Linked DNA regions of Homo sapiens: region 1 is linked to region 2. The links are contacts of gene promoters, found by promoter capture Hi-C in human tissues and cell types (Jung and others, 2019). All regions are on one chromosome and are shown on one strand. The core of a region is centred on a gene start or on the middle of the fragment in contact, and the rest is flanking DNA. Distances in the headings are between cores, read along the strand shown.

What was found. Contacts are between HindIII fragments. The study calls those that stand out against the background at their distance.
Region 1: a fragment that was not itself captured here is called in contact with the fragment with the promoter of WDR4 in region 2 in 1 of the 25 tissues and cell types used here (spleen).

What each region holds. Positions count from the first base shown.
Region 1 is chr21:44,063,473-44,067,344 of GRCh38, reverse strand. TRAPPC10 (trafficking protein particle complex subunit 10) reads right to left here. Exons shown (of 23, transcript NM_003274.5): 7 at 3,560-3,807. Among named protein-coding and RNA genes, the nearest start is that of PWP2, 42 kb to the left of the region's middle. RefSeq lists enhancers at 1-90, 1,645-1,694. The HindIII fragment of the contact is 3,943 bases long and covers 1-3,270 here.
Region 2 is chr21:42,878,117-42,882,078 of GRCh38, reverse strand. WDR4 (WDR4 tRNA N7-guanosine methyltransferase non-catalytic subunit) reads left to right here and starts at 2,540. Exons shown (of 11, transcript NM_018669.6): 1 at 2,540-2,672. The coding sequence starts at 2,584. LOC105372817 (a long non-coding RNA gene) reads right to left here and starts at 2,367. Exons shown (of 4, transcript XR_937765.3): 1 at 2,324-2,367. RefSeq lists enhancers at 2,288-2,637, 2,708-2,817, 2,848-2,897, 2,550-3,514, 3,515-3,962. The HindIII fragment of the contact is 11,595 bases long and covers 1-3,962 here.

The DNA of each region.
Region 1 (3,872 bases), core at 50-2,549, 1.2 Mb before region 2:
CCCACACTACATCTCTGCCTTTGTCCTCTGCCAGGCCTGCACCTCAGAATACCGATCCCAGCTGGCCAGCTTTGACTGTAAACCTTCTTCTTCCTCTGGTTCAACCTGCAGGTTGGCCACACACAGCCTCTGTTCACAAACCGGCCAGCTAACTCCGACGGCGTCCCATGCACGGTTCCTCCGTGCCACAGGCTAGGCTGGTGACTCCCCTGGGGTCTGGAGGAGTCCTGACCCTGCTAGGCCCACACGGTCTGTTACATAACCAGCAGCTAAGGTGATAAAAGGTCAAACGCTGAATGAAACACATTCCAAACCCCCCCAAAAAATCACTTGGGCAATCATTGTAACAAACACATTATGGCCTTCAAGAAAGTATCTTCCCCGTTCTTCTAATTTGGCGACAAAATATATAAGTATCATACTTTTTTCTTACCAAAGGTGCAGGAAAACAGGCATCACTAGCATGACTGAAAATGGGAAGACCTTTCTGGAGGACAAATTAACAACATATAGCTTTAAAAACATGTCTATCTTCGACCTTCCAATTCTACTTGTATGAATTTACACACAAAGATGTATGTATAAGGATACAAACTGCTGCAATTGCAAAGAATTTTGAAGAATTCAAATGTCCAAATAGGAGCAAGGAAATAACTGCAGTTCATCTATACATAAGAAGGCCATGGACAAAAAAAGGGAACCTCTTCCTGCTAGCAAAAGCAACGACATTTTCTTCGTATATTTGTCTGTTATTTTCCAAATTTACATAAAGAAAACATTCAACTTTTGTAAATGGAGGGAAAATTAGAAATTGTTACAGAAAAAAAAAGGAAATACTCTGTCAAGGAGGATCCTGAACTCACGCAGAACTGGCCTCACTTCACGGGTGTTACCGCTCACCCCAGCAGCCAGCTGTGCAAGGTAGGCACAATCTCCATTCTTAACACATTTTCCATTAAGGGAGTGCGCAAGGCTAGTAAGCAGCACCCACAGGGCAGAGGCCTCTATCCGGCCGTCTTGCTCCCCTCCTCAGCCCCCGTCGCCCCTGGAGTGTGGATCAAGCCCTACTACAGAGCAGGGCTAGTTTCCATCACAGCTGGCCACTTCGTTGCCTCCTATTCTCTTTAAATAAATGAGGTACTTCAAATCAACTGGTAAAGCAACCAGGATGTTAGCAGGACATGTTTTATAAGCCACCCACTCGAAAGTGGGACAGTGGGATCTGCAACTGACAGTGGCACACCTACCCCCTGGCCTCTGCTCAACTGTAGCCCTAAAACCTGACTCTCACCAAAAAATCCTAACAACTAGACTGGAGTAAAAACTACTGCACAAGAGAGAAAAACACAGCCACGGGCAGCTCAGACCTGTAATCCCAGCACTTTGGGAGGGGAGCAGGGAAGATCACTTGAGCCCGGAAGTTCCAGACCAGCCTGGGCGACACAGTGAGACACTCATCTCTACCAAAAAATTTAAAAATTTAGAAAAAAGGAGAGAAAGAGAAACACTTCTGACGTGAAGTTACCAGCGAAGCCCTCTAAGTAAACAGTGTGAATCTCAGTGTTGATCAAACACAGGTGCAAAGTGTGCAAAGAGGATTGTGTGGGCTTCAACACAAGCGACAAGGGAGGCTGTCCTCTCTGGCCTGGGAAGCCGACAGGCACAGCGCATGTAAGGAGGCGCAGCCAGCTGTGTGCATCAGAAGATGACGAAACAGGAAGCGGGTTCTTAGAAGGAAAGAGACTGACAGACTGTGAGAAAGTCATCAGTGGGTGACACGTCCTTGCCTCAAATCCAGCATTCACCTTTGGCCACCTCCTCTCACTGGAGATGCAGAACTCAACCGTGCAAAGAGGTGCAATAGCTATGACTAAAAGCAATGGGGCAGCTTCCACTCAAGGAAAGGCCAAGGGGACAACAACTTCATTCAGCAAAGCAAAGGGCTCGGAAAATACACCACGGATAAGAGGCTCCTCACACGATACAAAGCCTTGAAAATACCTGTGACTTCCCGGCCCTGCAGACGAGCACCTAGAGGAGCCAACAGACCCCGTATGGCTCCTGTGAACCCCGACGCTACAAGGGAACTCCAGAGCCCACACCCTCTATTACTTACACATTTCTCCTTCCAGCCACAAGGTAATAACAAAACTAACAGCCCTCTCCAATCAGCCTCCTGGGGTCGTCTCACTCAGAAGACATCATGTCTGAATCATTTGGACTTGAATACTTCAATTTTCCCCCCTCCCGGCTAGTAAGACAAAAATCTCAACATCAGGTGAAATCCCTAGGTACACATGAACAGAGAGCCCGGCTCTAGGAGTGAATGGTTCCCTCACAGCCCCGTCCCCAACCTGCAGTTAGGGCTGAGCAACCCAGGCAGAGTCTCTAAATCCAGGTGATTACAGGCAGCCCAGAGGGTCATTTCGAGGTGGAAAATGTTTCTTTTCCTCATTTGCTTCATTAGGTGAAGAAAAATCATTTGATAAAAATTCTTAAGTTTCTGAGTTTGTGACTTGGGCTAGGTACTAATGAGCTTAGCTCTGAAATAAGAACTTCTCCTTTTGAAATTAACTAAAATATATTTCTCTTCATTAATTAAAGTTTAAATCTCTTAAAATTATTTTAAACCAAGCACACAAAAATAAGTTCCTATATTATGAAACACCGTCCCCATCAATGGCTTATACTCTTCAGACCTAATCACTTCCAGACTCCGTTTTCTTGTTTACAAAACAGCATCAGAGACCACTCACTCAGGAGATCTTAACCAGGGGATGGGTGGCAGGGATGTACACAAATCCTCAGGTCGTAAGTATCATTTTGTGTGTGTGTGAATTGTTTTGGGTAAAGAGGACCCTGAAACAAGAATCACCAGACTAGATACGGTCTCTACAGTCCTTTCATCTCACTACAATGTCCGTGGTTCTATGGACAGTAAGAGTTCAGTGCTTGGGTGAATTTATCTCTAAGGGCAAATGTTTTACTAACTACATTCTCACACTCACACACACACACACACACACACACACACACACACATATTTATGACATATCTTCCATGAAGCTCCGTACTACTAATCAATGGGGCACAGCCTGCTGTGTGTCACTCACATTGCTACCTGCATGGCCATGTGCAAAACTATTTATCTGAAAAGACAAATAAATAAATGTCTACATGACATAAGTGTCTGAAATAAAATAAATGTCTACATGCAAAATCTAGCTCTGCGTGTCCCTCAGGTGAGTGACTCTTCCCCGTGGAGACAGCTCACGCAGCAGCACAGGCCGCAGTCAGCCAGTGAGCTTCACTGAGAAGCTCATCTAAGAGGCTTGCTCTGGACCGGCACAAACTCCAGCATGTTGAGAACAGAGTTCTATTTTTGAGCAATTTATCAACGTAAAAAGTAACTAAGCAAACAATATACTGAAAATTAAAGGCATTCAGAAAAGAAAACCCTTTCTTAAGCACAAACAGTTCAATGCCTGGGATCTCAAGGTTCAGAGATTTCTGCTGGAACAATCAAGAAACGGGTAAATTGGGAAAACAGCCGACTCACTTCTAAGAGCTTCAGTTCCTGCACGCAGTTGTGCAGCAGCTCTAGGGCGCGCTGGGCCACCTCCCACGGCCTCTGCAGGAAGAGCAGCAAGGTGCACTGGCGAGAGAACAGGTAACTGCGCAGATCTAACAGGGTGGCTTCTCGCCTCTGGATCGATTCCCGCTTCTCCATATCTATGGGTTTTCGGAGGATCAATCCGTTCCAGCTCTTCACTGGCTGGCAGAAAAAAGTCAGCCAGTTGGCACCATCTAAACAAACACACATCATGAAAGGTGCTGATTGCAGGTACTTCACCTTCCTGAGCTTCCTGCTC
Region 2 (3,962 bases), core at 1,291-3,790:
CTGTAATCCCAGCACTTTGGGAGGCCAAGGTAGGAGAATCAATTGAGGTCAGGAGTTTGAGACCAGCCTGGCCAACATGGTGAAACCCCGTCTCTACTAAAAATACAAAATTAGCTGGGCACGGTGGCACATGCCTGTAATTCCAGCTACTTGGGAGGCTGATGCAGAATCGCTTGAACCCGGGAGGCAGAGGTTTTGGTGAGCGGAGATCACGCCATTGCACTCCAGCCTGGGCAACAAGAGTGAAACTCCGCCTCAAAAAAAAAGAAAAAAAGAAAGCCATAGTTTTTATGAGCTTGTTGATCTATATCTAGGACTACAAGGAAGATATGCATGCTACAGACATTTGTACCTAGCAGTAGGTGCTACTGTAACATGTGGCATTAGCTTTGGACTAGAAGTCTGGAAAAGCAGTGGGGAAACTGGTAGTGAACACTGGAACAATGGTGAGGAAAACTACGGGAGGTGGACAAATGGTGAACAACTCTATGTCACGGTGAAGGATTTGTAAAATTGTTGCCCTTCAGTAAGATGGGCAGAGAAAAAGGCAACTACTGAACTCTGGGACTTGAAAAAGATCATATCAGTATAATGTTGAGATTAACCTGTGTTTCTTTTGCTTGAATATGTTGAGACACTTATAGAAAAGAGTGTGGTTAAAAACAAACAAACAAACAAACTGGCCAGCAGAATTTAGAGCACACTTTGGGTTGAAGCTGGGGAAAGTATTATTAGACCCAATAGTTGGTAACAAGTTCTCAAAGTAAGTCATAACCTGGGCCAAAGATCAAATTCAGAGTGGCGCTAATAAAATATGGCCTTAAGAATAATGCTGAAGTCAAGGTGATCTCAATGATTTAAATGTTAACAAGTGGCTGGGCGCGGTGGCTCACGCCTGTAATCCCAGCACTTTGGGAGGCCGAGGCAGGCGGATCACAAGGTCAGGAGATCCAGAACATCCTGGCTAACATGGTGAAACCCCGTCTCCACTGAAAAATACAAAAAATTAGCCAGGCGTGGTGGCGGGCGCCTGTAGTCCCAGCTACTCAGGAGGCTGAGGCAGGAGAATGGCGTGAACTCGGGAGGTGGAGGTTGCACTTCAGCCTGGGCGACAGAGCGAGACTCCGTCTAAAAAAAAAAAAAAGACTAGTGGGAGTGGCTTCTTGGGCATGGAGAGCACCTGAATCAGATTCTTGAGAAGCCCATAAAGCTTTTAAGGGACTTGTAGTGAACAAAGCACCACCAGCTGCCAAAATGTGGACAGAACAGTTTAGAGTGAAAAAAGGTCTGTGGGCTCACAATTTGCTAATGACAGGAAGGAGGTTGAGAAAGTTTCTCAAAGGGCACATTCTTCAACATGGCCAAGAAGGTGCTGGAAAAGGAGGGACACCCAAGAGGGCAGAGGCAAGAGCTGTGCTGAGATACAGCCTGGGGAGATACTCCCAGGAAGCAGAACTCGGGCCTGGTTAAGACTTCTTATTCTTGTAGGGCCTGAAAACATCTTCCAGTAGGATTTCAGAATTGCTTTGGACCAGTGATTACTGTGTCTCCTCCTCTTCTCATTTTCACATGCAAGTATTTATTGTGGTTATCTGGTCCCGGCTCACCATCATATATTGCGTGCACGGGAGAGAAAATTAATCTTTTTAGTTTGTAAGTCTCTGGATCAAGAGGAGCTGCACCGGACAAGCCAATCTAAAACAGACCGTGAGATCCTAGATTTTGTGCCTGATGCTGGGATTGTAAGAGGCTTTTGGGGATCTTGGGATGAACACTGGAAACTAACCATAGTTTGGGTTGAAAATATCACTACAGTTCGGAGATTTTAAGGCATCTGTGGCTTGTCTAAGTGCAAAGATTCAGTAGGCTTACTTCTAGCGACCTCAGACTTGACGCCACCCGAGACACCCTCACCCATGACCACATCTTGGACATTTTTTTTTTTTTTGAGAGAGAGTCTCGCTCTGTCGCCCTGGCTGGAGTGCAGCGGGGGCGATCTCGACTCACTGCAACCTCCGCCTCCCGGGTTCAGGCAATTCTTCTGTCTCAGCCTCCCAAGTAGTTGGGGCTACAGTCGCACGCCACCACGCCCAACAAATTTTTGTACTTTTAGTAGAAACGGGGTTTCACCATATTGGTCAGGCTGCTCTCGAACTGCTGACTTCATGTGAGCCACGGCCCCCGGTTCATTCACTTCTTGAAGGATCATTTACCAGGCATCTAGTAGCCATCATCAGGTCCTACGTCTCTCCAGCTACCGCGGAAAAAGATCCAGAACCAGCCCTACCCCGTCTAGAGGAAAGGATGAACATTAGGCAAGTACTTGGAATCGTGCGAAGTGCACTCCATCAGATCACCTTGGTGAGTGAACTGCCAAACCCGAAACACCGAAGGCCACCAGCCACAACCCGGAGGGCGGTCACAGCACCTTTCACGCATGCTCAAGGCAGGCTCGTCCTTGAGCATGCGCGGTACGTGGGGTATACGTCATCTCTCGGCGTCTGCGCCTGGCGTCACCGACCGGTGCGGACAGGAAGAGGCTCTGGGCTGGCACATGTGTATGGCGGTGAGGCGGGCGGGTACATGGCGGGCTCTGTGGGACTGGCGTTGTGCGGGCAGACGTTGGTGGTGCGGGGCGGCAGCCGATTCCTGGCCACCTCCATAGCAAGCAGGTGAGGGGGCCTTGGTCTTGGAACAGGGAGACCAGGCTGCGGGCGCGCGTCGGGTCCTGGCGACCCCGCTTCTCCCGCACCGCCTGGTCGCACCCACTCTGGGGTGACCCCGGGGAACTCCGCTCCAGCCCACGAGTCCTCCGCCGCAGTCTCGGCCTGGCCGCGTCTCTGCGCCTGGAGGGTCCGCTTTCGCCGTCCGCTCTCGGCGTCCGCTCCCCGGCTCCGGCGCGCTCCTTGCACTAGATGGCTGGTCTGCGGTGTTCTTGCCCGGTTAGCGCCGCCGGGTCGCTTCCGGTCTCCGCGGCGCCGGCGGGGACCGGGTAGGTAGAGCACGTGGGGCGACGCTGACCAGTCAGCAAGGCCCGGCCGAACACGCTCTGCAGAACTGGGAAGAAGCGGGTCTCGGGTCTCCCTGGTGAGAAGGGAGGGGCTTACTCACTGCGAGCTCACTGACCTCCAAGCGCGCTCCCTCTTTTTGCAGGGTTGTCTGTTCCCTCTTCCCGGCCTGCATCCACTCACCTGGCCTTAATTGCTCCTTAGGGCTCCAAGTCATCTCCGACACTTACCCAACCCAAGGGTGCACGTGGAGCTCGCAGTGCGCACCTCCCTAGTGGCCCTTCGCACGGCTCGGGTTTTGCTTTCCGTAATTTTATTCTCCTTCCTTAGTGTATCGCCAGTGCTAGGACGACGCAGGGGATTTTTAACTTAGTAAATGTTTGTTGATGGAACAGTCCTAACTCAGGACTCTCGGAGCAATTAGTAGTGCTGTCAGTTTCAGCCCCTCGTTTCCTTTCCCAGGTTATTTGTGATTTCATATTTGAAACGGACGACGTGTCTGTCAGATATACTGTATATTTTTTGTTCGTTTGGTTTTAGAAAGCCAATTCGATGTTAAGTTAGGTCTCACAAAAATTGTACTCAGAAACCCGTCACATATCCCAGATGATTTTGTTTTAGAGACTCACGGTCTAATATCTGCCAGAGTGAGCTGTGGATATATTAGACATGATTTGCTTACCTTCAGTCTTTGCATTTTGAGGAAATTCTAGTGGCTGGTGGAGTTTCTGACTTGGAAGACAAGTCCACGGTTCCATATGGAAAGTTTTTTGGTGCACTCGCTTTAAAGGCTATAAATATGTACAAGATACGTGCCAGGGGGTGAGGATGGGATAAACCGAAGTTTAGGTTCAGTATGGAAAATGGGTGATTCTTATGTTGGTAAGTGCCTGGGGTCATGGGAACACTTTCAGGTAGGTGAGATATGTTTCTAAATAGTAATGGCTCTTTGAA